Regions from separate parts of the Homo sapiens genome. Here region 2 is linked to region 1. Evidence: promoter capture Hi-C in 16 types of primary human blood cells and fetal thymus (Javierre and others, 2016). All regions are on one chromosome and are shown on one strand. The core of a region is centred on a gene start or on the middle of the fragment in contact, and the rest is flanking DNA. Distances in the headings are between cores, read along the strand shown.

Region 1 (4,225 bases), core at 86-2,585:
TCAACTCTCCCATAGGGACCCTAGGAGGTGGATGAAGTGGTCTCCAAGGCCCTGCCAGTTCTGACTGCCTTTTGGAAGTAGAAACGCAAGAAAGTGAGCCCAGAGGCTGCCCTTTGCTTTGGCAGGGAAGACGTAGATAGGCGTGTGCATTGCCATGTGCCTTTAACTTTCTATAATCACTGGGCGCAGTGGCTCATGCCTATAATCCCAGCACTTTGGGAAGTCGAGGCAGGTGGATCACCTAAGGTCAGGAGTTCGAGACCAGCCTGGCCAACATGGTGAAACCCTGTCTCTACTAAAAATACAAAAAAATTATCCAGGCGTGGTGCGGGTGCCTGTAATCCCAGCTACTCAGGAGGCTGAGGCAGGAGAATCGCTTGAACCCAGGAGGTGGAGGTTGCAGTGAGCTGAGATCACGCCATTGCACTCCAGCCTGGGTAAGAAGAGCAAAACTCTGTCTAAAAATAAATAAATAAATAAATAAATAATACAATGACAAAGGCAGTAACAGCAGCAATGTCTACACACTAAGCTCAGGTCCTCTGGGCTAGGCAGTGTTCTCAGCCCATCTTGTTCGTTAGCTCCCAAGCTCTCTCAACCACCCTAGTGTGAGAAGTATGGAAGGGACCAGGCAGCCCTGTCCACCACCATATTCCCATTCCCATAATGGAACCTAGCTGGTAGAGATGCTCAAATGATGTTTACTGAATGGTGGCTCCAGGGCCTTTCCACCTGCTGATCTTCCTGCCTGGAGGAAGCTCTTCCTGAGATACCTGCATGGTTCCTTCCCACTCCAGGTTCCCTTTAGAAAGGATGTTCCCAACCATCCAACCTGGAAATAGAGCCCCACTGCCACCGGTGCTCTGTGTCTCCTCACCTTGCTTGATATTTCTAGAGAGCACTTATCACTACTTGAAATTATACAGGATATCTGCCTGTTTCCTGCCTGTTTCCTCCTCAGAATGGAAGCTCCTCTTGTGTTCTCGTAGAAGGCGCTCAATAAAAATTTACTGAAGCAGTGATTGATGCCCCCTCCATTCTTTCCCTGTGTGTTTTGCTGCAGCCACACTGGCTGGCTGTGCCTGATGCACACCAAGCTCATTCCCACCTCAGGGCATTTGCACAGACACACAGGTGCCCACACACCTGCGCATGTGCTGCCTGTGTGTGCATATCCCACACAAATACGCAAGATGGCCATCCAACCCTGAAGGCCTCAAAGCCCCAGCCCAGTCCACCTGGGGCACCTTGTACTCACAGGTGGGGTTCCAGGTGGGTCCGATGATCCCACAGAAGGTCTGGCGACTAGGCTGGTGGGACTCCCTGGGACTCTGTGGCCAGTGCCCCTGCCCACTCTTAGAGGCTGGCACTGCCCACGTGAGTGCTGAGCCGCCGTCACTTGACTCCCTAAGCCAGGACCTCCACAAAGGAGTCCTTGTCTTAGTCCCTTCTTGTAATCTGCTCAGAAGCAACGGCTAGCACAGCCTGGCCATGGCCCCTCTAATTTCTTCTTGGAGGGTGTTGGGCTGAGACCAGGGCTGGAATTTAGGGCAACACCCCCTCTACCATGGCCCTAAAATCCAGAGGCTAAAGGATCTGCTCCACCAGTGTTCTGACCCCTGAGGCCTTGCAGAGAGAGTTGGGGGTTAGGGGGCTGTGCTGAGCTTCAACTTCTGTGCCAGGAACTCTCCAGGAAGGAGGAGCCTCTGACTAGGCCCTGGGGTCTTTGACAGCCCTGTGGGCTATGGAAAGAATGAATACCGGGCTGCAGTCAACAGTCCTGGTTTCTGGTCCCAGCCTTGCCACCTGTGTGTGGTGACCCCGGGTAGGTTTCAGCTCCTCTCTCAGCCTCAGTGCCCTTATCTGAAAAGGATGGTGTTGCTTGGGAATTTCATCACCCTAGTAAAATGACAGAATTCTGCATATGCTGACGAGGAGCTCTGATTGGCTGCTGGTGACATCATACGTTATTCTGGCTGTGATTGGCTGGCAGGGCCCATCAGTAAGTTGCTTCAGAGAGATGGAAGGAGAAGCCTGCCGGGGCTGGTGGAGGGGGGTGAGTCTGGTGGGGGTTGACAGAACAGCCCTGGAGTTTATGCTGCTGGCTTCCAGCCAGCCAGTGCAATATGGGAATAAATGCCCAGATCCCCACGGGCAGCTGGTGAAAATCTCAGCATGTGATTCAATAAATTTTAATACATCAATCCATACTCAAGGGCTCTCCTAAGCTGTTGGAAGTGGTGGGTGTCTACCTACACACTCCTCTTGTATTGTTCAATGAAGAGAGCAGAGCTCTAGGCAGCAGTGGTTCTTGGTCTTTAGAGGCCGTAAGAATCGCCCAAATGTTTATTAAACGGGCAGTTTTCTGGATCTTTCTCCAGAGTCTGAGTCTGTGGCCTTAGGGATGTTGCATTTTAATCAAGCACTGCAGGGGATTATGAGATGTGTGGTTTTGGGACTAAACTTCCAGAAGCCCTGATTTTATAATATGACCTTGTGTCTTAAACCCACTCTCATCCTCCCTTTCCTGTCACCCTCTCTCTCTGAAATGTACTAAGCGTTAACTATGCTGAGATTGCAGGTGATTTTTCTACACACCACTTTTTTTTTCACTTTAAGTTCTGGGATACGTGTGCAGAATGTACAGGTTTGTTACATAGGTATACATGATGTGCAGGTTTGTTACATAGGTATACGTGTGCCATGGTGGTTTGCTGCACCTGTCAACCCATCATCTAGGTTTTAAGCCTTGCGTGCATTAGGTATTTGTCCTAATGCTCTCCCTCCCCTTGTCCCCCACCCCCACACACCATTTTTGCCTTTATATAATTATCTGCCTAGAAAAAAAAACACTATTTCGCAATGACCTTGAATACTTTTCTAATCATGGCAAACAATAAAGCTGTTGTTATTATAAGACTCTCTTTAGAGGCAGCCTTGTAGGAGTATTTACTGCCTCCCCGCTGCCCCATCGCTGTCCTCAACTGATATGGGGAAAGAAGCAGGTTCACTTCAGCCTCAGTCTCCTCATATGCAAAATGGGACAACGATGCCTACCTTGGCAGCCGAATGAGAATGATGGATGGGACATGTGTCCGTCAACTCTCCAAACCACTGGTGCCTGTGCCTGACCCCTACGAATTCTGATTTGATTGGTCTGGATGGACCCCAGGTGTTGGGATTGTTCAAGTTCTCCAGGTGATTCTGATTTTATGGCCTGTGCTGAGTCATTGCTTAATGGATTATTTCCCTATCCTGTATTCCCTTCCCAACCAACACATCCTGAAACTCAAGAGCTTTCCATTTAGAAGATGATAAATATATATTATATATATTTATATATTAACATATGTAAATATGTATTAATATGTCTATAATATTACAAATATATTTGTATGTACACATATATTTATACATATAAATATATAAGTAAATATATAACTATATTTTTGAGACAAGGTCACCCAGGCTGGAGTGCAATGGGTGTGATTTTGGCTCATTGCAACCTCCACTTCCCAGGCTCAAGCAATCCTCCCATCTCAGCCTCCCAAGTCGCTGGGACTACAGACGCACACCACCACACCCAGCTATTTTTTTTTTTTTTATAGAGATAGGGTCTCACTACATTACCCAGGCTGGTATTGAGCTCTAAGTTCAAGCAGTCCTCCCACCTAGGCCTCCCAAAGTGGTGGGATTACAGGAGTGAGCCGCCACACTCGGCCAATAAGTATGTTTTAACTAAAGTTAACACACATGCCTGGCACCATGCCTGGAACATTGATGCTCATTCTGTACTCTCTGAAGGAATAAATGAAAATCCTGCCTTTGTGGAGACAAGTTCTTGCCTTCCCTGTGGTGGCCACTAGAGAGCGTGCTTGACTAGCTGGCTCTGGCTGGGGAAGCCTGGTTCACTGGTCAGGATCAGTGCAGACCACGGAGCTGGCACTGCTTCATCTCCCTGACCCCGACCAGCAGCCATAGAGCCATGAGAGGGAGTTGGAGACACTAGAGTCCCTCCTCCCTGTTCCCTGAACCGCAGGCTCCTTGGCAATATCCCAGGAGTACCACCAGGACCATAGACAGTGCATGGCCAGTCTCCCTTCCCCTCCCAGAGGCCCCAGCATGTCCCCAGAGACATCCCATGAGCAGCTGCTCCTGGCCCTGCCCCAGAGCTGAGACAGGCACACCCTGGCACAAGTCATGGTCTCTCCTACTGGGTCTCAGC
Region 2 (4,127 bases), core at 1,025-3,524, 110 kb after region 1:
ACTTACCTTTAAGTGGCCAATGACGAATTTGTGGACAAGGTGGTTCCACTTGGGTTTTCTGTAGACAGACAGGTGGCCATAATCATGTTGCAGCCATCCAGCTTGGGCCTGGGGAGAGAGGGTCACACGTGCTGTCACAGCCTCAGCAAACAGGCACCAGGCCTCTGTCAGCTAGGGGAAGTGAGGGTGTCACGCCTCACCTGAGAGGTAGCAAGGACAAAGGCCGTGATGAGGGTAGGAATCCAGCCATTGCCAAAGTAAAAGACAGTGAACCATGCAATGCTCTCCAGGGCGATGATGTGGGCCAGGAGGAGGAGGAAGAACACGTGGTTGGTCTTGAACAGGTTCATGTCCTCAGCCGTCTTCCTCAGGGCCCGGAAGTCCTCAGTGATCTTTGACTGTTGACCAAGAGCACAGGGAAAGGAGTCAGCCACCAGCCACTCTGGAGGGAACATATGTCTCGAGCTGCCATTTCAACAGCCAATGCACAACCCAGAGAAGCTGTGGCAAGAGGGGGCCAAGCCACAAGCCTCGACCCTCCAGGAGTCCCTACAATAGCTGCTGTTACCACATGCCCCACACAGCCCTGGGGCCTGTATATTTGTCACAGCTAGGTAAGAGTGACAGAGAAAGGCTTTGACTCAAAAGCTTGCATTTTATACACCCTGTGTTCATAGCTCTATTCACATCAGGAAAAAGGTAGAAACAACACAAAGATCTCGTGATGGATGAATGGATCAGCAACACGTGGTCTATCCATGCAATGGAATATTACTCAGCCTTGAAAAGGGAGGAAATTCTGACACATGCTACAATGTGAGTGAACTTTGAAGACATCATGCTAAGGGAAACAGGCCAGTCACCAAAGGACAAATATTGTATGATTCCATATACAGGAGGTCCTTGGAGAGGCCAAATTCAGAGACAGAAAGTAGAATGGTGCCTGCCAGGGGCTGAGAGGTGGGAGAATGAGGAGTGAGTGCTTAATGGATGTGGAATTTCAATTTGGGGAAGATGAGAACTGGATGGTGGTGATGGTTACATAACAATGTAAATGTGCTTATTTGATGCCACTGAACTGTACACGTCAAATGACCAAAATGGTTGACCACACTTTTTTAAAAAAGAAAACTTTAATCCCAGCACTTTGGGTGGCCGAGGCAGGCAGATCACCTGAGGTCAGGAGTTCGAGACCAGCCTGGCCAACATAGTGAAACTCCATCTCTACTAAAAATACAAAAATTAGCCAGGCATGATGATGGGCACCTGTAATCCCAGCTACATGGGAGGCTGAGGCAGGAGAACTGCTTGAACCTGGAGGCGGAGGTTGCAGTGAGCCGAGATGGTGTCACTGCACTCCAGCCTGGGTAACAAGAGCAAAACTCCATCTCAAAAAAAAAAAGAAAGAAAGAAAAGAAAAGAAAAATAAAACTTGCATTTTCCACCACCAAACAGAGCACCACTTGCTCTGCGCACACTGTTGGGTCTTGAGGGGTTGAGTTGGGGGCGACACAAACTAGCGCAGGAGGGCGAGCTGAGGCAGGCAGGAGGGGGCTGTGAGTCCCGGGCACATGGAGCCAGGGAGGCAAAGCGGAGTCAAGGAGGGCCCTGGGAACACAATGGCATTGCGAGGAAGAAGGAACTTGGGACAAGAGGCAGGGGCAGGGCCGGACGGGGAGGAGAGTGGATACAAGGAGAGGAGCGGTACCCACAGGGCATGACCAAGGTGCTATGAAGGGTGGTTCTGGTGGTGCCTGGTGGGAGCTTGGATGCTAAATGGTGCAGGATCTGCAGCAGAAAGGGAGAGCAGTGGAGAGAGCCAAGGAGCAAGGCCATGGACAAGGGAGCTACAGGGCAGGACGAGCAGAGCTGGGGAAGCCGCAGGCCAGGAGGTGCTGGAGGTGAGAGTGGGAGATGGACCCACTTGCGAAGGAGGCAGGAGGGGACAAGCATGGGCTGGCATGGGTACAGGGCAGGTGATCTCATGTGCCATGGAGGGCAAGGTGAGAGGAGGGGCATTGGCCTTTGAAGGACCTGCAGGGTGGCCCGCAGCTCATCAGGAAAGCCAGAGGCAATGGGGGTGGTGGGGGACTGGCCAAGAGTCCAGGCCGGGAGAGACCCTGGTCCTGCCCTGGCTCTGCTAAACAGAGGGGTCTGGCCCAGGCTGGCAACAAGAGGAGGAAGAGCTTGCTGAGGCCAGGGTGGGACTTCCATGACCACCCTGGTCACAGCCTGTGGGTACCACTCCTCTCCTTGTAACAACTCTCCTCCCCGTCCTGCCCTGCCCCTGCCTCCTGTCCCAACTTTCTTCTATAAACGGCTCCGCCATTTACATGGAGACTTCATTGTTGAACAAAACAACAGCCCATGAGACCTCAGGGGTTGCTATTTTCACACATGGCTGTCCTGGAAGCCCAGCACCCAGGGGGGCGTCTGACCTGCAGACAATGAACAGATGACCAGGGAATGGTCATTCTTTCTCAAAGAGGTGCCCCGGACCACACACCCCAAAGCCACTCTTGTCATCAAATGACATTTTTCGGTGTTTCTGTCCTGTCTTTCCCCTAGATTGTCATCTGGCACCTTCCTGGAAAGGGATGGAGGAGAAGGAAAATGAAACTGGCCAGGAGAGAGGAGACGCCACTAGTTGTTGTCAAACCCCGGCTCCCAGGGAGGCTCTGAGGCCCTCCCTGAACACAGGTGAACCACAGTGGCTCCTCCAGGACAAAAGCACCCCTGCCTCAGCCCCAGTTACTGGTCATGGGGCAAGGGGAGCCTCTCTCAGACTCCCAGCCACCCCCAGCCTCGTCTCCACCCCCACCCAGGTTGCAAGCCAGACTTACGTTCTTGCCGTGGTCCTGGCTGGGCTCCTCCGGGGCCAGTTCACCAATCAGCAGGGGTTTCAAGAACTTGCCCACGAATTCCAGGTCAGGGTGGAAGGCGCGGAAGGCATCCTGGAGAGCAGAGGGCAGTGATGAGGCTAAGACCTGAACTCTGTCTGCTCTTGGGCCCCAAGGAGGACAGTGCTCACCAGCAACAGCTCCATGTGTGCACCCAGACACCAAACGGGGTCTCCTGTGATCTGGCCCCAAATGCCGTCTCCAGCATTTTTCCAGGACAGAGCCCTCAGTGCCCAACGCCAATGGCAACAGCCACCTGGGCTTCTGTGCTGGTGCAGGCATGCTACACTCCCCAGGGGTTTGTGAATAGATGCATAGGCTGCCTTTGGGCAGGTCGGGAAATGGTGACCCTCCAGGAAGGCGCACCAGGCAGACACGGGGCTCAGGGAGGACTTGAGCCTCGACTGCTCGTGAGCTGAGTGCCTTGCATGGTGCACAAACCACACCACCCACCATCTCTTACTAGTTCCTCACCTACATGTCCAGGGTGGTCAATGAAAAGGACAAGACCGAATACTACCTTGGCACTGGAAATGTGCTGTGATGAAGTAAATAAAAAAATAAACACAGAATTATGTAAAAAGCGTTCCTGAAAAAAAGCCTAGGAGGATCTAGGCTATTATTGCACATGTTAAGGTAGCTGGATTATGCCTTGCTTTATTTTCATTACTTTCCAAACTCTAACACTGCTATAATGATACACATTTTAATCTTTTTTTCCCAATTATAAAGTAAAAACGTGCTGAGTTTTGGCCAAGTTAGAAAAGGCACAGCAGAATAAAGAGGAAAATAAATATCACCCAGAAAGTGGTCATTATTGCTAATATTTTAGCATTTTTCCTTCCAGCTTTTTTCTATACATATTATGCATATTACATGAATTATCTCATAAAAAATCTAGTATTTCTATTAGAGATGAGCCAGCACCAGGCTCCCCTGAGGGGATGCAATAGAATGTCCCAGTGGTGAACACTGTGTAATCTGCATCAAATCAAGCTTCCAGACATTGGTAGGATTGGCAAACCAGTCAAACTCCACCATGAGAAACAATCAGAAAAATCAATATAGCTGGGGAAAAACATACAAGTTTGTGGAAAAAACAAAAGTACGGAAGCATGGTCTAGATTAAAAGAGACTAAAATGATATAAAAACTGCAACTCTTGACTGGTCGCAGGGGCTCATGCCTGTAATCCCAGCACTTTGGGAGGCAGAGGCAGGAGGATCAC

Evidence for each region. Contacts are between HindIII fragments. The CHiCAGO score rates a contact against its expected background, and 5 or more counts as called.
Region 2: a contact is called between a fragment that was not itself captured here and the fragment with the promoter of BEST1 in region 1, in 6 of 17 cell types (neutrophils, naive B cells, endothelial precursors and 3 more). The highest score is 10.2, in neutrophils.

What each region holds. Positions count from the first base shown.
Region 1 is chr11:61,947,461-61,951,685 of GRCh38, reverse strand. It overlaps BEST1 (bestrophin 1), which reads right to left and starts at 1,335. Exons shown (of 11, transcript NM_004183.4): 1 at 1,259-1,335. The HindIII fragment of the contact is 17,311 bases long and covers 1-4,225 here.
Region 2 is chr11:61,836,605-61,840,731 of GRCh38, reverse strand. It overlaps FADS2 (fatty acid desaturase 2), which reads right to left. Exons shown (of 12, transcript NM_004265.4): 2 at 2,844-2,954; 3 at 201-398; 4 at 7-108. Among named protein-coding and RNA genes, the nearest start is that of FADS2, 10 kb to the right of the region's middle. RefSeq lists an enhancer at 1,442-1,999. The HindIII fragment of the contact is 3,248 bases long and covers 651-3,898 here.